Regions from separate parts of the Homo sapiens genome. Here all the other regions are linked to region 3. Evidence: promoter capture Hi-C in human tissues and cell types (Jung and others, 2019). All regions are on one chromosome and are shown on one strand. Each heading gives the region's core, a stretch centred on a gene start or on the middle of the fragment in contact. The rest is flanking DNA. Distances are from core to core; before and after follow the strand shown. Region 1 overlaps TNRC6B (trinucleotide repeat containing adaptor 6B). Region 2 overlaps TNRC6B (trinucleotide repeat containing adaptor 6B). Region 3 holds the start of ENTHD1 (ENTH domain containing 1).

Evidence for each region. The method cuts DNA at HindIII sites, captures the fragments that hold promoters and counts their contacts. A contact is called where the count stands out against the background at its distance.
Region 1: a contact is called between a fragment that was not itself captured here and the fragment with the promoter of ENTHD1 in region 3, in 2 of the 25 tissues and cell types used here (mesenchymal stem cells and mesendoderm cells).
Region 2: a fragment that was not itself captured here is called in contact with the fragment with the promoter of ENTHD1 in region 3 in 1 of the 25 tissues and cell types used here (stomach).

The regions. Positions count from the first base shown.
Region 1 is chr22:40,259,300-40,262,575 of GRCh38, reverse strand. It overlaps TNRC6B (trinucleotide repeat containing adaptor 6B), which reads right to left. Exons shown (of 23, transcript NM_001162501.2): 4 at 403-744. It overlaps LOC124905121 (a long non-coding RNA gene), which reads left to right. Exons shown (of 2, transcript XR_007068107.1): 2 at 2,208-3,276. Among named protein-coding and RNA genes, the nearest start is that of TNRC6B, 83 kb to the right of the region's middle. The HindIII fragment of the contact is 8,779 bases long and covers 1-3,276 here.
Region 2 is chr22:40,309,414-40,312,966 of GRCh38, reverse strand. TNRC6B (trinucleotide repeat containing adaptor 6B) reads right to left here. Exons shown (of 23, transcript NM_001162501.2): 17 at 1,974-2,150; 18 at 316-462; 19 at 1-65. Among named protein-coding and RNA genes, the nearest start is that of ADSL, 35 kb to the left of the region's middle. The HindIII fragment of the contact is 7,129 bases long and covers 1-3,553 here.
Region 3 is chr22:39,892,445-39,895,507 of GRCh38, reverse strand. ENTHD1 (ENTH domain containing 1) reads left to right here and starts at 1,748. Exons shown (of 7, transcript NM_152512.4): 1 at 1,748-1,813. It also overlaps a transcript of GRAP2 not described here. The HindIII fragment of the contact is 22,421 bases long and covers 1-3,063 here.

The sequences.
Region 1 (3,276 bases), core at 85-2,584, 370 kb before region 3:
CATTTTCTCTATCCTCCTAGCATTCTGGAAACATAACACAGGCATCTAAAGATTCGCCTTCGCACAAGCCCCATGTCCAATTATGCCCTGAACACATATGACGGTGGAACTATGGAGGCTCAAATTTGTAACACTCTAGTCTGAGAAGGAAAAAAGGCCCCCAAAATAATAAGCAACAGCAGTTAAGTTAGCCCTTATGCCAAGAGCACACACTTACGGAACACTAAACCTCAGTTCCAAGAATCACCAATACACATCGCATACTAGGATCCTCTCTCATCTTTTGACTAATCCCAGTGGTTTATATAATGAATGGCTTTCCTGGACTTTACATCAAGCAATGCAAACAAAGTGCTCTCTCTCTGTCAAGCTGCCATGCATTCGATTCACAGGGTGCCTTACCTGGCGCAGTCCCACTCTCACTCTGCAGCAGCGCTCCTGTCACTTGTGCGTTGTTTGGGTTTGCTCCAGGTGCTGTGCAGGGAGGAGGCCCTGCCCCACCCCCAAGGAGCATGCAGGACGGTGGAGGGGGCTGCCCACGTTTTAGTAACACTTTGTGGTCCTGCTGGCAACGGAATCGCGGCGGCACCTCCCGAGGCATGTAGCGGGCGGCGCTTGGCGGTTGTCCGTTCGGCACTGCCACCCTTTTGGCATTGTTGCCACCATTGACTGGTGGCGATGGAGAGCTGCCAATTGGGCTGGCGGCCGTTGGTTGGCTTAAACTTGGTTTCGTCACTTCGGGCACTAAAAGAGAGGGGTTGGGAAACAGTCTTTGAAATACATCAAATACATTTTTTCTAAAAATTTTAAAAATAATTTTATTATTTTATTTAGAGATGGGGTCTTGCCATGTTGCCCATGCTGGTCTTGAACTCGGGCTCAAGGGACTCTCCCACCTTGGCTTTCCAAAGTGCTAGAATTACAAGAGTGAGCCACTGTGCCTGGCCAAGATTATTATTTATTTATTTATTTATTTATTTTTGAGACGGAGTCTCACACTGTCACCCAGTGTGAGTGTCGCCCAGGCTGGAGTGCAGTGGTGCAATCTCCGCTCACTGCAACCTCCGCCTCCCAGGTTCAAGCAATTCTCCTGCCTCAGCCTCCCAAGTAGCTCGGATTACAGGCGCCCACCACCAAAACCAGCTAATTTTTTGTATTTTTAGTACAGACAGGTTTTCACTATGTTGACCAGGCTGGTCTTGAACTCCTGACCTCATGATCCGCCTGCCTTGGCCTCCCAAAGTGTTGAGATTACAGGCATGAGCCACTGCACCCAGCCTATTTTTTATTTTTTTGAGATGAGGTCTTGCTGTATAACTCGGGCTGGAGTGCAGTGATCTTGGCTTGCTGCAACTTCTACCTCCAGGGCTCAAGTGATCCTCCCACCTCAGCCTCTTGAGTAGCTGGGACTACAATGCATACACCACTATGCCCAACTAATTTTTTTTTCCTCCTCTAGAGACAGGGTTTTGCCATGTTGCCTACCTAGACTGGTCTCGAACTCCTGAACTCAAGCTATTTACCCACCTCGGCCTCCCAAAGTGCTGGGATTACAGGTGTGAGCCACCACACCCAGACCCTGGCTAAGATTATTTGTAAGAAAGCTTACATGGTACCAATTCTAACAAAGTAACTTCTCCTTTTACTCTACTCTCAAGGGAAACAGTTTTTCCAAATTCTCCACAATCTCTCCAGTTTGCTGAAGGTAGGATGAAGGTGGCGGCTGACAGTGACAAGAATTTAAACACAGCAAGGTCATGGAATACATTCCATTAATTAAGGCGGAGAGGGAAGCAATCAACATTCACTCCCCTAAATCAACAGTGGAATTAATTCCCTGAAGTGCTGCCTAGAAGAGTTAAATGTCCATGGCAAAGTCCTTGGGAAAGGTTTCAAGCCTCAGTCCAAGGGTCCCTTCCCTTCATCCACATTCTTAAAAGATCTACCCCTGAGTAAACTTTATTGAAGCCCCTGGCCTAGATGGGCTAAACATTCTTCCTAAGTGCTCCTGGAACACATCATCCATCTCTCTCTACCATGAAAATTCTCCATTCAAAAATCCATCTATCTCTACCACCGAAATTCTCCATCTACAAGTCCCATCTCTCTCTATCACAGAAATTCTCCATTTACAAGTCCTTCTCCCTCACCAGGCCATGACTTCCTGAGGGCAAGGACCCATCTTTCATCTTTTCTTTCTTCCTTAGGGCATGGCACAGAGTGGACTCTTACAAGAAACTCCAGGCCTAGAAAATCACAAACTCAGCTTGGTTCTGGTTTCTACAGCTACCTGGACTCAAAGACTTGCACCGCTCTCTGTGTAAATACTAGAAATGTTACAAATCTTTTTGCTTTTCTTTAAAAAAAAAAAAAAGTGTTTCTTCCCAATTCTTTAAAATAGAAATTTCAAAATGTAAATACTTTTTCTGTTTACTTTAAATCATTTGATTTTTTTAAACTTAATTTTAAAAATGGCCCGCACACAGCGTGGGAATGTCGGGGCAACCGTGAAACCGCACTCTGCCGGACCCTCTGGCTCTTCCCGTCGAACATACAGAGAAGGCTCTCTTAGATCTGTACCTCCCTCGCTGCATGCTGCCAGAAGATCACTACCCTCTCCATAAAAATCTACCTGGCAAATAGAGGCTGGAAGTCGTACAGAAATAATCATCAAGCCTGACAGTTCGGATGATTCTGAGGCCCAAATCCCTGCCTCCCAGGGTAACGTCAGGGCCAACTCTGGGGGTAGTACTGCTTTGACTGCTAAAATGATGCGGGGCCAGCATGTTGCTTGCTGAACTGGCTCCTTTATGAGAGAGATACATCATCAGAAATCAGGCGGCCCAATCTATGCCACTACTGGACATTAACATACTGTGGGTGACAGGAGAAAAGAGCAGGTGCCTGCAGCAATTTCCAGGTAACCCCATGTCTAACCTCAGCTAATCACAAGGCAGCACCAGGCCTCCCAGTAAGGGGAGGGGGAGTGGAGGTCAGAGGATCCAAAATCTGATGAGCAGAATAAATGTGTGACTTAAGAAAATAAAATTAGTCGGCCAGGCGCGATGGCTCACGCCTGTAATCCCAGCACTTTGGGAGGCCGAGGTGGGTAGATCACAGGGTCAGGAGATCGAGACCATCCTGGCCGACATTGTGAAACCTAGTCTCTACTAAAAATACAAAAATTAGCTGGGCGTGGTGGCATGCGCCTGTATTCCCAGCTACTCAGGAGGCTGAGGACGAGAATTGCTTGAACCTGGGAAGCGGGGGTTGCAG
Region 2 (3,553 bases), core at 659-3,158, 420 kb before region 3:
GTCAGAGGCACTGTAGGGCCAGGCACCAGGTGAAGGCAGCGAGGTGTTGAGGGAAGAATTAGACCCTTGGGTAACAAAGAACAAGAAGAAAATACTGAAGATAAATGTCAGTATAACCAGTGAAACCTTGAGAGTATTTTGTTTAAACTTCAATAGAATGGAGGACAAAATATGTCTAACAAATAAAAGTGAAAAGCAATCTTTTTACATTTTTTGGTTAAACTTTTAGGTACCAGCAAGTACAAATGAAGTCACAAACTGACAACTATGAAAATGCTGGGTGTTGAACATATAAGAGATGCTTTGCTCAAGTACCTGTGGTGTTATCCCGCAGCAGTTGGTGGTCAGTATCTACAATGGGAGATGTGGCTGTACCCCCCAGCACACTTCCTGGGGTGACATAGGGGTCAGATTCAGGGTCAATGTTTTGGATACCTTTCCATGGCACTCCTGGTTGGAATTCTGAGACAAGGAAAACAAATATTAGAGAAGGAAGGTCGTTAAAAAAAAATGATATAGTACTTTTTTTGACATAAGAAATGGGTCTGTGAAAAGTATAAATACTGAATTTATTGTCTCTTAGATTTTCATCACAAAATTAAGGAAAAAAAAATCACCATGAACATACTCTTGCCAACAGCACCTTTGTTTTATCACACTGTCTGTGGCAGTCAACTGGAAGCCACAGCTCATCAGAGCCTGTCCCCAGTAACCTGATCCTCCTGCTCCCAGGAGACTTCAGGGCTGAAGGCAGGGAAAGCAGGAGTAAGGACTCTGGTGTTCACAAGAATCATCCCAGCATCTAGGCCAAGAACCGGTGAAAATATGGGCTAGAGATCAGTGCTCTTTCTCATTTTCCTTACGAGATGTTGGCCAAAATGCAAAAAATGTAATACAAATGATACTGCTACACAGAATGTCCAGGGATAACCAGCAGGGATAATTTAGCTTAGCAAAAGAAAGCCTAGAATATACATAAGGGCTCGGAATTTTTTTATTGGTCAATTTAAATCATTTTAAAATTTTAAGGCTATGTGACACAATAAACTTTTATTTTCCAAATCGTGATGAGAAAGAGCAATGTGTATTATATATGAACGATCTGCATTATACAGTTCTACTTTGGCCGGGCGTGGTGGCTCACGCCTGTAATCCCGGCACTTTGGGAGGCCGAGGCGGGCAGATCACCTGAGGTCAGGAGTTTGAGAACAGCCTGTCCAACATGGCGAAACCCTGTCTCTACTAAACATACAAAAAATTAGCCAGGCGTGGTAGCAGGCGCCTGTAATCCCAGGTACTTGGGAGGCTGAGGCAGGAGAATCGCTTGAACCTGGGAGGCAGAGCTTGCAGTGAACCAAGATCGCACCACTGCACTCCAGCCTGGGTAATAAGAGCAAAACTCCCTTTCAAAAAAAAAAAAAAATTCTACCTTAATAAAACGAAACTATACATATTCATGTCACAAATACGCATGCACAGAAAGAGGTCTAGGAGGATATATATTTATGGAATTACTGATTTTAATTTTTGCTTTATTAAATGTTCTCATTTTTCTATCATGAGAATAGATTACTATATCCAACAAAAGGGAGGGACAGAAAGAAAAGAATTAACAAATAATCTCATTGCAATCGCTACTGCATACCTAGAAGCTAACTGGTAATACACACTTGCCTAAGAACTAACAAATCAATTCAACAGACACTTCAAAAGAACCCATGTTACAAGGCATCCTATGCATGGGACGAATGCAAAGTCCCACCTACAATGTCACTTATCCCCAGATTCCCCATCTAATGAAAATTTTCTATCTTCCCACAGCACATGCCTTGCTTCTAACAGACAATTATTGAATGAAAAAAATAAAAGCAAGTACCTTAGTAACATGAATCACAAAAGCAATGTATTCTGAACCTGAAACTGACAATTACAAAACAAATGCTATCCTGGGAAAAGCATTTCCTAGACAATACCTGGAGGCCAACTGGCATTGCTGGATTTACTTCCGATTTTATTTGTTGGTGGAGATTTGGCAGGTAACCAGCTATCACCAGCAGGACCCGTATGGCCACCCAGTGTGTCACCAGGGATGATATCAAACTGGTTGTACGGTGACCCTCCCCGGGTTTTACCAGGGGCCACTATAGCGCCTGAGAAAAGAGAGGAAATTAAATCATCCAGAATAACTCCTATGAATAGAACTTGTCTATTTTTTATTCGCTGGAATGCAAACAGTCTTCTGAAGCTGATGGAGTATATACAAACAGCACTGGAATAAGAGGTTGCATTCGAGACTCAGCACAGAATTACTAAGCAGCATGACCAACAACAAGTCATTTCGCCTCTCTGAGCCTCTCAGTTCCTCACTTAGGCACACAGGATTGTTCTCATGCTTGAATGTTCCTTTCAGTTTTAAAATTCCATGGTCTTATGAAATTAATGAAACGTTCACATACTAGGAATCTGACCATTATCCCTAGTTTCTATGCTAACGACTCAAGAGTGAGAAATGGGGAAAATTCTAACCATTTGTAGCACATAAGAAGGTTTTAACTAAATTTCTACTGATGCTATCCACCCAGGTTCTTAAGGGCTGGCTGATCAGGCTTAGATTAGCTGGAAGCAGCAGTGTAAACAGAGAGTCCATTGGAGGGAAAAGCATCTGCAATTGCTTTAAATTCCAACGCAATGAGATGGAATTCCCGCCTAGGGTCTTTGCCAGCACAAGACCAGCAATGAACTCTGCAGCTCTGGGATCCGTGGCCTCACACATGAAGAACAGCAAATCCTTTGTAACTGGTTTCCTGAGAGCACTTCAGTGGTTTTGTCGCTGCCCCCATCATGCATTTTATATGCTATGGGGCAGGAAAATAATTAAAAGCTTAAAATTACCTTGAACTAACAGAACATGCACTTTGAATAAAATTTTAGGTATCAGTGAGATACCAGTCTACTTATTTCTCAAATGAATTTTACATACTATATTGGGTCACTTGATCTATTCTTAGGATGCTGCTTGTGAAGGGATAAAATTATTTCCAGGGTGATGCAGCCTAATGGGAATATTATCAAAACTACCTCCATACTCAGGCTAAGAGGGCATTTACTTTTCTGGAGCCACTGACAAATCTGGCTCAGAGGCACATTATGGTGAAGCAGTGGAAAATGACAAGCTCAATTACTTTGGGGATTGCTAAGGAAATGGGAAAACATGATCTATAAGCTCTAAAAAGGCAAGTAGAGATTTTGCCTTTGAGATATCCTCTCACATGCCATTTCAGATTTATTATCATGCACCTATCATGTCTTTGGGGACAAGGGGACCTGGTGAATCATCAGCCTAAGGAAGCATTGAAAGTGCCCAAAGCTGTAGATATCAGTGGGCTTAGATTATTCAGTCCACAAACAGATTTTACAATTTCAATAAATCATTTTTGACTTCATGCCATGAAACCAAATGATAATGCTTAGGGATGGCAGGCAGAGAGCTCCACGTGGGCATTTCACCAGCCTCCTGGATGGGCTTATTAAAGAGTGGTTTATAAAGGAAACC
Region 3 (3,063 bases), core at 499-2,998:
AATACCTCAACATAGCATTCAAGGCCCTGAACAATGTTTTCCAGGTCACCTTTTCGATTTCCCTCTGGCTCCCACCCCATTACTCTATATTATAGCCAGTCAAATAATATTCCAAACTCACCAACTTCTTTCATACCTCCTATCATTTTATATTGGATTCACCTATCTACATGTCAGTATCAATAATGTGGGCTATTATTATTATAATTATGACTGAAGTAGTAGGAGATAGAAACAAATGTTGCTTTTGTCTACTAAGTGTTTTGTTATCCTCTGTCTTTTCCCCTCATCCTAGTCAATATTCCATTAAAACACAGGTTCGATTACATTTTTCAATGCCTACTGGATAAAATCACCTTGTAGTATGGATAAGGTTCTTCATGATCCAACTTCCCTCTGTTATTTAACCTTCCTCTGCTGCTCCACTAATAGCCTTTGTGACAGTTGTAGTAACTACAGTACATGTAGTTTTTCCAAGATAATAGGCTGGCTCAGCTTTCATGCCTTTACACATGATGTGTCCTTTGCCTCTTACGTCCTCCTCTACTTTGTCTATCCAGTGAACTCCCTGTCATCCTTTAAGATTCAATTCAGATGTAAACTCTTCTGTGAAACCTGCCCTTAAATACTCAGTGGCAGAATTAGATGATCTCTTCTCTCTTACTATGCCATACATATCTTGTTACAATCTTCTCTGACGGTGCCTGTCACCTCCACTAGCCTGTAAACGTATCCAGCAGAGGGCTGCTTTTTATCTCCGAGTCCTTACTGTCTGGCACAAAGTGGGTGCTCACGGAAAATCAGTTGAATACATCAACAATTACCCGTCAGTGGCACCTGAAGCCATCAGTCACTGGAGCTACCCCATCATTGTCCATCACACACACTGCTCTTCATAGACTACTATTACATTCTCAGTCCTTTGAGGTGGCAATCACGTGCTGGTGGTATTTCTAGTCAGTTGAAATGACAGTAGTAACACACTTTTAAAAATGTATTCATGTGCCATGCTGGTGCGCTGCACCCACTAACTCGTCATCTAGCATTAGGTATATCTCCCAATGCTATCCCTCCCCCCTCCCCCCACCCCACAACAGTCCCCAGAGTGTGATGTTCCCCTTCCTGTGTCCATGTGTTCTCATTGTTCAATTCCCACCTATGAGTGAGAATATGCGGTGTTTGGTTTTTTGTTCTTGCGATAGTTTACTGAGAATGATGATTTCCAATTTCATCCATGTCCTTAAAACTTAAATAATAATAAATAAAAAAAAAGAGATATTATGCTAGAAGTCTGAGTATTTTACTGATTTTCCATTTTAAGAATAAATTATCATGGCAAATTTTAAGTTACATACATTATTTTATTGTCTACTTTTTAAAAACATTATCAGCTTACCTTGGCATTTTTTTTCTTTTTTTAATGTCCGTTTTTACGTTGTGAACATTTAGTAAATTAATTTATACTCATTTTTATTTAATTAAGAAAGCAGCTAAGAATAAATGCTAGTGTCTGATTAAACTATTTCCCAGATCTCAAAAAAAAAAAAAAATTTATTCTTTGAAAGGAGGATTAGGGCAGTGTCACAGCCCGGCAGCCTGTGAAACGAAGACACTTACCTTCATTCCCCTTGGTACCCTCCAGCTCAGGTATCTGCAACCATCTTGCTTGACGCCCTGACAGGAACTGCACCAGGCCAGAAAGTGAGGAAGCGGAAGTGGGGACCGGCCTGGGCCCTTGAGCCTGGCTGGAGTAGGTGGAATATCCTGGGGAGAGGAAGTTTGGTCGTTGGGCAGCGGCCGACTTTCCTCTCAGGTAACAGCCTCTGCTTGGGAGTGGTGGTGGGGCTCAAGGCGGGTCTGGAAACATCGGTTGCCTTCCCTCCTCCCGTTTCTTGCCGGCACCGTCGGAGTCCAGGTGGGGGCGGGAGGGCGGCGAGGCCATTACCATCCGCAGGAGGTGAAATCCCTGTGGCGTGACGTGACGCCATCACGTCCCTCTCTCCTTCTAGAGGCTTTCCTGAGGTCCAGCCTTCCCCTCCACTGCCGGTTCTCCTAGGGTAATTGCTGGTCTGATTCTCTGTGTGGCCGAACGCCCAGCACCTGGCTCATCTGGTACACAGTCGTCATCTGAAGTGGGGGTTGTATGAATGAAGACGAGGATGCCGAGGAAAGGCCCTGCCCACAGAAAGTTGATTCTTGCTCAGCCTCCACCCGCCATTTTCAAAATTCTTTCCAAAGCATCTCGTTTCTTCCTCCCCCACGGCCCTGTCTGGCGATTATTCTTTGTGTTGCGGATGAGGGAACTGAGACTTAGAGAAGTTGTTAAGTCTTAGTTAGGAAATGGCAAAGCAGGACCTCAAATCATGGCTTTGAATCCTAATTAAAGGAGAGAGATGAGGCATGTGAAGGCCCAGGTGTGAGCACATTGTGAGCGTTCAATGAAGAGTAGCTGTTTACTCCAGGGTGTGAGGACTGTGTCTTGTGCACCTGTTTCTCCATTTCCTAGAATGGAGCCTGCCACATGGTAAGCTCTGGAAGATTATTAGTTGAATAAATTAATGAACACACACTTAGGGCTGGAAAAGATTAGATTCTCTGCCTCTGACAGTATTCTTTTCATCAAAACAGTAACACCTCCTAATGGCATGGTAGTCTCTATAACCATTTTCCCGTAGCATTCTTGGCCAGAGCTCATTTCCTTACGAGTCAAACTCATGTCTATAGGCAGAACCTGTACAAACACAAGAGCTGTTCTTTTCTCATAGTTCCACCTTAAATGCATCTTTTCAGAGATAGCTCTGGACACTCAGCCTCTTAGATGCTATTGTCATTATTGTCCCAAGTCTTTGGATAAAGTCAGTTCAGCTCCTCTGTTCCTTATTCTCAATCCTGAAATCCAAAAACTTTTGGAAATCAACTTTTCCTCCAACTCATTTGGTGGTAAAACTTGGCCTGAGGCCATTTGTAGTCTTTATTCCAAATATTTACATGTTTTTATTGCAGACATGTTAATGTGTTTAATTGTTCAGAGCAGCTCCACACCTTACTGTGGGTATCATGTAA